Regions from separate parts of the Homo sapiens genome. Here all the other regions are linked to region 1. Evidence: promoter capture Hi-C in human tissues and cell types (Jung and others, 2019). All regions are on one chromosome and are shown on one strand. Each heading gives the region's core, a stretch centred on a gene start or on the middle of the fragment in contact. The rest is flanking DNA. Distances are from core to core; before and after follow the strand shown. Region 1 holds the start of LSG1 (large 60S subunit nuclear export GTPase 1). Region 2 holds the start of APOD (apolipoprotein D). Region 3 overlaps ACAP2 (ArfGAP with coiled-coil, ankyrin repeat and PH domains 2).

The links. Contacts are between HindIII fragments. The study calls those that stand out against the background at their distance.
Region 2: the fragment with the promoter of APOD here is called in contact with the fragment with the promoter of LSG1 in region 1 in 4 of the 25 tissues and cell types used here (dorsolateral prefrontal cortex, hippocampus, mesenchymal stem cells and 1 more).
Region 3: a fragment that was not itself captured here is called in contact with the fragment with the promoter of LSG1 in region 1 in 2 of the 25 tissues and cell types used here (dorsolateral prefrontal cortex and hippocampus).

What each region holds. Positions count from the first base shown.
Region 1 is chr3:194,670,406-194,673,731 of GRCh38, forward strand. LSG1 (large 60S subunit nuclear export GTPase 1) reads right to left here and starts at 1,786. Exons shown (of 14, transcript NM_018385.3): 1 at 1,659-1,786. The coding sequence starts at 1,757. It overlaps LOC124909474, which reads right to left. Exons shown (of 3, transcript XM_047449428.1): 3 at 3,259-3,326. The HindIII fragment of the contact is 4,871 bases long and covers 1,624-3,326 here.
Region 2 is chr3:195,582,191-195,585,516 of GRCh38, forward strand. APOD (apolipoprotein D) reads right to left here and starts at 1,750. Exons shown (of 5, transcript NM_001647.4): 1 at 1,688-1,750. RefSeq lists an enhancer at 1,201-1,370. The HindIII fragment of the contact is 4,834 bases long and covers 1,270-3,326 here.
Region 3 is chr3:195,437,314-195,440,639 of GRCh38, forward strand. All of the region lies in intron 1 of ACAP2 (ArfGAP with coiled-coil, ankyrin repeat and PH domains 2), which reads right to left. Among named protein-coding and RNA genes, the nearest start is that of ACAP2, 4.0 kb to the right of the region's middle. The HindIII fragment of the contact is 4,179 bases long and covers 1-3,326 here.

The DNA of each region.
Region 1 (3,326 bases), core at 536-3,035:
TAAAATAACTTGCCTATAGTCAAAATCTAAATGGCACAGGTAGAACTTGAACCCAGATTGTCTGACTGTGCTAGTCAAAATTAGTCAAAACTTTATTTGATATAATCCCACAATAAGAAATACATTTTACATAGTGACCCAAAGGTGTATGTACATATAATGATACAAGCATTCAAGTACCGTTCAGTACAGTAAAATGGCAATAGAAGAATACTGAAACCACACCCTATTACATGCAACATTCTGATATTTCTCTATCTTGCTGGGGAAAAAATAAAAACAAAACAAAACAGCTAGCTGCAGACCACTAAATTGACTTCCAGACACAACCCAGAGTTTGATAACCATCACCCTAAGCTATATACTTAGTATAGATACAAATAAAAAAAAATTGCCAGGCGTGGTGGTTTGTGCCTGTAACCCCAGCTCCTCAAGAGGCTAAGGCAGGAGGATTGCTTGAGGCCAGGAGTTTGTGATCAGCTTGGGCAACACAGCAAGACCCTGTCTCTCCAAAACAAACAAACAAAACCAAACAACCAGGCCTGATGGTGTGCACCTGTAATGCCAGCTACTCAAGAGACTGAGGCAGGGGGATTATTTGTGCCCAGAAGTTTGAGACTGTAGTGAATTGGTGAGTTATGATCACACCACTGGCACTCTAGCCTGGGTGACAGAGTGTGACCCTGTCTCTAAAAATGAATAACTGAATGATGAATGAATTTCCTAAATAAATATTAAGGGCCAAAAGTTTAAGTGGGCATAGAATCAGCAAAAATAAGGAATTAGGATCCAATTCTTTACCATTCATGTTCAATCTTCCCACAGTTTCCTAAAAGGCTTCATTAGTAACAAGTTGCTTCAAAGCTAATAAAAATTACCAGTAATCTAATGTCCAGAGTAACTCTGACCTGATGAATACTGATAAGCACTCCATGCTGTTTACTCTGCAGACTATATGGATGAAAGTCAGCTGGTGTGACAGTGGCACACGCTTACTTAGCTCCAGGGACATATTTAACTAAATTTAGCACACGATCTTAGCACTCAACATGTTCTCATTCATTCCCGGGGGAATGAATGGTGAAAATAACGACTAGAATGATGAACACAAGCCAAATCACTTCATTCATTTTTTTAAAGATCCTTCTATAACCTAGTAAAATATTAGGTCTTGTCACACCTGAAAAATCAATGATTTATCTTTGAGCTAAACCACTAGGGGGTGCTTCGCAAGGATGAGGCAAGGATCTGAATTATTTTATATTTCTGGCAGTAACCAACCGCTTCTGGAGGATCCATTCTTTGAACAAATCAATACAAAAATACGTTTTGTCTTTTTCCTGCTCTGGAAGTTCCAAGCACTTCAGTGGCTTCTAGGGCAAAACCCAAACGTACTCAAGACCTGGCATTGAAGACTCTTCAGATTCTCACTCCACGCCTCATCACCACACTAACTCTTCTTTCAAGCTTCTCCTACCTTTGTGTTCTGGGCCTTGCCAGGAGGAGGGCCTGCTACTCAGCTTGGCAGAAACTCCAACTCATCCTTCAAAACCCGGCTGAGGCGTCCCTCCTGCAAAACTTATCTGACTTTTGACCCCGAATTTTGCAGCACTCAGGCTAGACAGAAAAGATAAGAAAGATGACATGGTCTGTCTTACCCAGGAGTCAGTGTGACGATGGCTTCGGCTCCGCTGAGTCTGATGGCGCATAAGGGCCCGTCCCAGCGACCCACCGGCCGGGGCTCTCCTCCGGCCCATGGCAACACGACCGCTGGACGAAGCTTCCCGGCTCGGCGCGTGCAGTTTCCGGGATTCACAGTTCGATCCCCGGAAGTGACGATAAGCGAGCCCAAGTAGTTCAGGCTCAAACTTGAGAGGGGAAAGCAGAATGACTTGTTCTCAAGTTCTCCTTTTACGTCTCGATTTTACCAGTATTATAGAATATAAGTGAAAAAATGGTTCTGGGAAATTTTCGATAGATTTCCTGGCGAATGTCTCGAGTTTGGATAAATGACTGAGTTAAAAGAATGGTCCATTCTTAATTTGTGCGTCGGTCTTTAGCGTCCGGCGAGAAACTAGAGCACGTCGGAAACATGGCGGTTCCTATTCGCGGCACTAGCTCCGCCTTCCGCTGCTTCCGTCAGGAGGACGCGGAGACTCGGAGGAAGAGTGTTTCGGTGGCGCTGGGACGGGGGCGTTTCCCAGCGCTGGTTTTCTGCTGGCGTCCCGAGGTGTGGTCTCTCCGAGGTCCAGCACAGCAACTAACTTTTTGTTTATCTAGCCGACCCCAGCTGCGAACTGGGGAGAAAAGTCTTCGCCTGGATGTGAATTTGGAATGAGAGGCTGAATAGTATTTCCAGAGCTTGGCAAGGTTGTAGGAAAAGCCAACAGGAAGTGACTTACGCTTTATTTCAAAGAAAAAAAAAATGTTTAAACAGTTCTAATTATATTTTCATTACCCTTTTTAAAAATAATTAAAATGAAAGTGAAAACAGTGAGCCAGCTCCACTCCTAGAGGCCTGGGCTTTTGTTCCTCACTTGAATGTTTGATTTCCCTATAATGGGAATAATAGAAAGTCAGCTTAGAGTGGCTGGTGAACTACATTCTCATTGATCCAGAGAACCATCTCTTTGTTTTGATGCTTGGAGAGAGGAAGCAGCTTGAGCAAGTCGTAGATTGAGTGCGTGCAGTGTCAGGAATAAACCCAAGTCTTGTCACTAGCCTGTACACCCCTGGGGAGAGTGGGGAATGAGGGTTGTTAACATGTATTATTTATTTATTTTTATCTTTTGAGACAGAGTCTCGCTGTCCCCCAGGTGGAGTGCAAAGGCATGATCTCGGCTCACTGCAACCTCTGCTTCCCGGGTTCAAGTGATTCTCCTGCCTTAGCCTCCCGAGTAGCGGGAATTACAGACACGTGCCACCGCACCCAGCTAATTTTTGTATTTTTAGTAGAGACAGGGTTTGACTATTTTGGCCAGGCTGGTCTCGAACTCCTGACCTCAGGTGATCGCCCGCCTCGGCCTCCCAAAGTGCTAGGATTACAGGTATGAGCCACTGCGCCTGGCCAAACATGTATTTTTAAATCATAGGATCGAGGTAATGCATATATTACCTAGCATAGCTTGATTTAGCCATTCCACAATGTACACATATATCAAAACATTATGCGGTACAACGTAAGTAATAAACAATTTTTAGTTGTCAATTAAAACAACAGCCAAAAAGAAATAAATAGGATCAAGAATCTGTTTAACCTAGGGCTTTTCACACTTTAATGTGCATATAAATCCCCTGGGAATCTTGTTAACATGCAGATTCTGATT
Region 2 (3,326 bases), core at 500-2,999, 910 kb after region 1:
TCTCAAAACAAGCAAACAAACAACAACAACAAAAAAACTCCTTGTGAGAGAAAGGGCGGACAGCATCCATTATAGTTTTCAATGTCCTTTCATTCTAATTTACTCATTACTTATTGAGCATGTTATTAATGTGTACTTAAGACTTTGGGTAACATATGGATTATATACGACATATATTTTTGCATCTTCTTCTGATATCAATAGGAAGATTGTTCTTATGAGGAGTTTAAATACTTTACAAAATAAGTATAATTTAAATATTATTTTTGGCCGGGCATGATGGCTAATGCCTGTAATCCCAACACTTTGGGAGGCCGAGGTGGGCAGATCACTTGAGGTTAGGAGTTTGAGACCAGCCTGGCCAACATGGCGAAACCCCGTCTCTACTAAAAATACAAAAAATTAGCCAGGTGTGGTGGCAAGTACCTGTAATCACAGCTACTCGGGAGGCTGATGCAGGATAATTGCTTGAACATGGGAGGCAGAGGTTGCAGTAAGCCAAGATCACACCATTGCACTCTAGCTTGGGCAACAGAGCAAAAACTCCATCTCAAAAAAACAAAACAAAAACAAACAAACAAAAAATACAAAAATTAGCTGGGCATGGTGGTGCAGTCCTGTAATCCCAGCTACTTGGGAGGCTGAGGCACAAGAATGGCTTGAACCTGGGAGGCGGAGGCTGTAGTGAGCCGAGATCGCGCCACTGCACTCCAGCCTGGGTGACAGAGTGAGACTCCGTCTCAAAAAAAAAAAAAAAGAAATATGATTTTTAACAGAATATGAGGTAATTAAAAAGCAATCCAACTAAGGTGACAGTGCATCCACCTTGGGCCTGGCACTAGCTGGAAATCACTGCTCCACTTGCATTAAGCTTACCCGTGGAGAAGCCCTGGTCCCAGGATTTTAAGGGTGCTATGCGCTCAGTCTCCACAGCACCTCCTCTGGAGGCGACCTCTGCTGACACTCTCTTCATACCAACGAGGTGAATTTGCCCGGGTTACTTCCTGGTAAACTACGAAGCCACAGTGTAAGCCTAGGCCTGGGGACAGGCTAGAATGTAAGCCTAGGTCTCCCACAAGCCCGCGCTCTTAGTGCCTGGGGACACAGCCCCTGACCTCAAAGATCTGCAGAACGTGAAGGACTAGATTTTGAAATTTCACCTCATAAAATAAAATAGGTTCCAATAAGTCATTAGGTCTCAAAGACTCATTTAGCCATTAAATATAACAAGACACGTATCTCCCAAACACAATATTTTATGCCATATTGTCAAATGCATTTTCTAGTCACACCATTAATTCCAGTTTCCAGATTATTTTACTGCGATGCACCGTTGGACAGCTTGCTGAGAATTCACCTAGGACGGTGTTTGTGCATGGAAACACCTCGTTGTCCAGTTTGGAGGGGTAAGCAAAAGACGCTGGGATGAGTTCACACTGGGTTTGGTTTTATCTTAGGCATGTTGCTAGTGTATCTGAACCTCAGCTTTATCACTGGAAAAATGGCTCTGATGATACCTACCTTGTACATTTGTTTGAGGAAAAATGAGAACAAGTCTAAAGCTACCGGCACAAGCTCTCAATCAGTGGTAGTTATATGTAGCTGAAATGGGGCAATGGAGAGTCTAGACTGTTTCTATTTTAGACATTATTATCATAAATGAAAAGCTTAAAACTACAGTACATACCTTTTCTTTCAAGATGAAGGCAGTTTCCAGATGCAGAATCAGCCGATTTGAGATGCCTGTCTTGGTGACTGGCCTCTCCCAAGCTATTTTATAAGCTTCTTCAGGTCTCTGATGTTTACTTTTCATGCATGCCACGCCCGCCGCCCCCATCCAGTCAGGAGGGTTGGCCTAAAAGCTTAGTCTGTATCGAAACACAAAGATGGGATGTTGTGTCCATCCTCCTCCCCCGATTTCCTTCACAGCTGCTCCCTGAAGAAGAAATGAGATATTGTTTTCGCGCGCGCGTGTGTGTGTGTGTGTGTGTGTGTGGGTATGTGTGCGAGAGAGAGAGAGAGTATGTGTGAGAGAAAGATAAAGTATATTTTCATCCAAAACATTTTTTTTTTTGCTATGTGGATTTTCTAATTTAATTTTTTTGGTCAGAATGCACTTTTAAGTTCCAGCAGGACGTGTTGCAACATGTTTTCAAACATCTGGTATTTATTTTTCATTTTTGTGTAAATGAAAAATCAACAAGCTCATTTCCTGAAGTGGAACATGGAGTTCCTGACTCCACTAATGGGAGTCAGGTAATGGCGCGAGGGTTATGAGTCAAAGCTGGCTTTCTCCAGGATCCTGGGCAGCCCCCTAACTTCTCTGAGCCACAGTCTCCTCGTTGTAAGTAGGGGCTGTCATTCTTTCTCCACCAGAGCCAGACGTGTAGGGGAGATACCAGTTCTCTAACAACTGGGGCTAAAAGTTGAGAATGCAGAAGACATCTTCTGTCGCTCTGTTCTCTGTCCCTTTTATGACCCTTGCAGCGAGAAGTTCAAGACAGTCTGTCACTGCTTGGGGGTGGGGGCCGGGGTGGTGGGGAGTGTGGACTTAAACCCAGGGGTGCTTTTGGTCCAGCCTTATCTCTCCTGGTGGAATGAACAACTTTGACTCTTGTGAGTGAGATTCTATGTCTTTGTGATAGGCAGGAGGTATGTTTAGAGACATTTAGATAAGGCAGTGCCTTCGTAGTAGACTTAGACTCCTAAATGAAATTCATTCTAAAATATGTAAGCAACAGAGATACATTTACAGCACTGAGTCTATAAACATGAAAACAACAACACAGATCCGTAACATCCCAAACGTTGTGAGCGCTTTCTTTAAGATGTTCTTTGCCTTTTCAGAAACATAAGAAATTCCTACTACCACCCAGGGCCTGCCTCTCGCTGACCTCCTGTGCTGCCCTCCCCTAAGAGCTCTGTGTAGCTCCCTTCCCCACTCCAGGTCCCTGATCAGATGACACTTTTCCCTAAAAAGCTTCCTGACCTTTCAAAAATAGCACTCTTGTCACTGTCCCTTTCCCTGCTTCATTATATCTTTACCTGAAATTCTCTCCTTTATTTATACATTATCCTGCTTAGTATGTTTTCCCCAGGAGGATAGGAGCTTGAGGCGTGCCAGGAGTTTGTCTCTTTGACTCTGTGTTGTGCCCCAGTGGCTAAGCACATACTAAGTGCTCAGTAAATACTTATAAATTAAATGGATGCTATCCAAAGAACTTAATGAGTTTCTAAGATATACAAAAGGCCCCAGAGGTAATATTCACGCGATTTTGATTTCAATTGTATTTCTGGAGAAGCACTAGCCTGTATGTTTCTGTCTT
Region 3 (3,326 bases), core at 492-2,991, 770 kb after region 1:
ATTATAGCATAAGCTACTGCACCCAGCCTAACAAATGAAATTAAAGCCTTTGGCTTAACATATAGAGTAAATGAGTGAATTCTCTTCCAGGACCACCATGTGAAAGTTCACCATTAAGAAAGTCAATTACTAGCAAAAGAAGTAACTATTTTTAAAAAGTCAATTAATCTATCAAAATGTCCAGTTGCAGATTTTTCCGGATTTTTTAAAACATTTTTGAGTCTGGTCGAGGTGGCTCACACCTGCAATCCCAGCATTTTGGGAGGCCGAAGCTGGTGGATCACAAGGTCAGGAGTTCAAGACCAGCCTGGCCAACATAGTGAAACCCCGTCTCTACTAAAAATATAAAAAATTAGCCAGGTGTGGTGGCAGGCGCCTGTAATCCCAGCTACTCGGGAGGCTGAGGCAGGAGAATCACCTGAACCAGGGAGGTGGAGGTTGCAGTGAGTGGAGATTGCACCACTGCACTCCAGCCTGGGCGACAGTGTGAGACTCTGTCTCAAAAAAAAAAAAAAAAAAAAGCAAAAAAAAACCCACATTTTTAAAATGAGGATAAGTCCTACTTTACATGCTTTTTTTTTTTTTTTTTTTTCATTAAAATTAGAGACAAGGTCTCTATGTTGCCCAGGCTGGTCTCAGGCAATCCTTCCACCTCGACCTCACAAAGTGCTGGGATTACAAATGTAAGCCATTGCGCCCCACCTGCAAGAATTTTCTTTTTTTTTTTTTTGAGATGGAGTCTCACTCTGTCCCCCAGGCTGGAGTGCAGTGGCGCAATCTCAGCTCACTGCAACCTCTGCCTCCCAGGTTCAAGCAATTCTCCTGCCTCAGCCTCCCGAGTAGCTGGGATTACAGGTGCCCACCATCACGCCCACCTAATTTTTTTGTATTTTTAGTAGAGATGGTGTTTCACCATGCTGGCCAGGCTGGTTTCGAACTCCTGACCTCAACTGATCTGCCCACCTCAGCCTCCCAAAGTGCTAGGATTACAGGTTTGAGCCACCACACCCAGTCAGGATTCCTGTATTTTGGTTCATAATAAAATTACTTTATAATTCCATTCTACTGCTTCTGAGATTAAAAAAAAAAAAAATTTCCCCTCAGCCCTTACCCACTGTATTAACAGGCAGTTGCTAAAAGTTTATTATAAAGATGGAAGGCAAAGGAAGGAGACAAGATTGGCACCAATCCAGACTTAATAGCAACACATAACTGAGGTGTATTTAGTAGTCACATTTTATTCCAATGTCTTTCGCCCATTAAAACCTTTCACCTGACTGGGCATGGTGACTCATACCTGTAATCCCAGCTACTCAGGAGGCTGCGGCAGGAGAATCACCTGAGTCCAGGAGTTGGAGAACAGCCTGGATAACAAGTAAGACTCTGTCTCTCAAACATAATTCACCCACAAACACCCTTTTTAAAAAAAAAGTTATTCTAAGTTACTGAACAAGAATCGTATCTAGCCGGGCATGGTGGCTTATGCCTGTAATCCCAGCACTTTGGGAGGCTGAGGCGGGCGGATCACCTGAGGTCAGGAGTTCGAGACCAGCCTGGCTAACATGGTGAAACTCCGTTTCTACTAAAAATACAAAAAATTAGCCAGGCGTGGAGGTGCACGCCTATAATCCCAGTTACTCGGGAGGCTGAGGCAGGAGAACTGCTTGAACCCAAGAGCCGGAGGGTGCAGTGAGCCGACATCGTGCCATTGCACTCCAGCTTGGGCAACAAGAGCAGAACTCTATCTCAAAAAAAAAAAGAATCATATCTGAAATAGAATCTAAAAATGAAAAACCTGCAGGATGGTGTATGATAGACATTGTTAAAGGATAAAAATAAATTATCAGATAAAAACTAAAGCATACCAAGGCTAAGGCCTTTTTTTTTTTTTTTTTAAGAGAGAGAGAGAGAGTCTAGCTCTGTTGCCCAGGCTGGAGTGCAGAGGTGTGAACATAACTCACTGCAGCCTTGACCTCCTGCCTCAGCTTCCCATGTAGCTGGAATCACAGATGCACGCCACCATGCCCAACTAATTTTTTTATTTTTGTAGAGACGGTGTCTCACTTTGTTGCCCAGGCTGGTCTCAAACTCCTGGCCTCAAGCGATCCTCTTGTCTCAGCCTTCCAAACTGCTGGGATTACAGGCATGAACCACTGCACCTGGCCACAATATTTTTATACTTGAACACTGCTGACAAAAATCTTTCATAATTCAGAAAGATGTTTATTTATTCAATTTATTTATTCTACTTTTTATTTCAAATAGATATTCACTTCCTAAGTAAAACAGAATACATTTTGGGTTTTTTTGTTTTTTTTGTTTTTTTTGTTTTTGAGACAGTCTCGCTCTGTTGCCCAGGCTGGAGTACAGTGGCACAACCTCAGCTCACTACAGCCTCTGCCTCCCAGGTTCAAGCAGTTCTCATGCCTCAGTCTCCCAAGTAGCTGGGATTACAGGTGCACACTACCACACCCGGCTAATTTTTGTATTTTTAGTAGAGATGGGGTTTTACCATGTTGGCCAGGCTGGTGTCAAACTCCTGACCTTAAGTGATCCGCCGTCCTCCACCTCCCAAAGTGCTGGGATTACAGATGTGAGCCACAGTGTTCAGCCCAAGAGTATGTTTAAGTAAAAGAAAAGCAGTACTTTTACGGAGGTTTTGTAAAATTTTAAAGACCTACTACATGCAACTACATACAATTAAGGGCCCAAACAAATTCCAACTTCAACATATTTTGGCCAAAATGCAAAATTTCCACTCAAAAAAAAGTATACTTAGGCACTTTACATTCCTGTAGATTTTTAGATGAACAAGGTTTTTAGATTTTAGATGAACAAGATTTTGACCTTTAAGCTGATTTTAAACTGGTATTTAAAAAACCAAAAAGGGAACCCAAAATTATACAACGAAATGTGCCCTCCAATCCAAAACAAAAAAAAAATGTTCACTGGGATGTAAAAGTAACCATTGACTATTCAAATTACAAAAGACAATGTTGCAAATGCAACATCCTTCTCCCTATTTCAACCAGTCCCCTTGTATTCTCCTCATTGATTTAACAGGAAAATAGATGTTTAAAGCTTGAACAGTGGTGAAATTTTCATCAGCAAGATGTGCCTTTTGCATTAATTCTACAGCACCAAGACAGTTATGTGCACACACTAGACTTAAATGCCACAAGATTCATTTATGAATAAAGACACGTATTAATTTAAAGACAGCCCAATAGATCAGGACACAAGTGCAGCTGCCTTACTACCAAAAAACAAGCCCAGGCCTCACAAGCTTTTTATTTTGATACAAGTTTCACTATCACTCAACATAC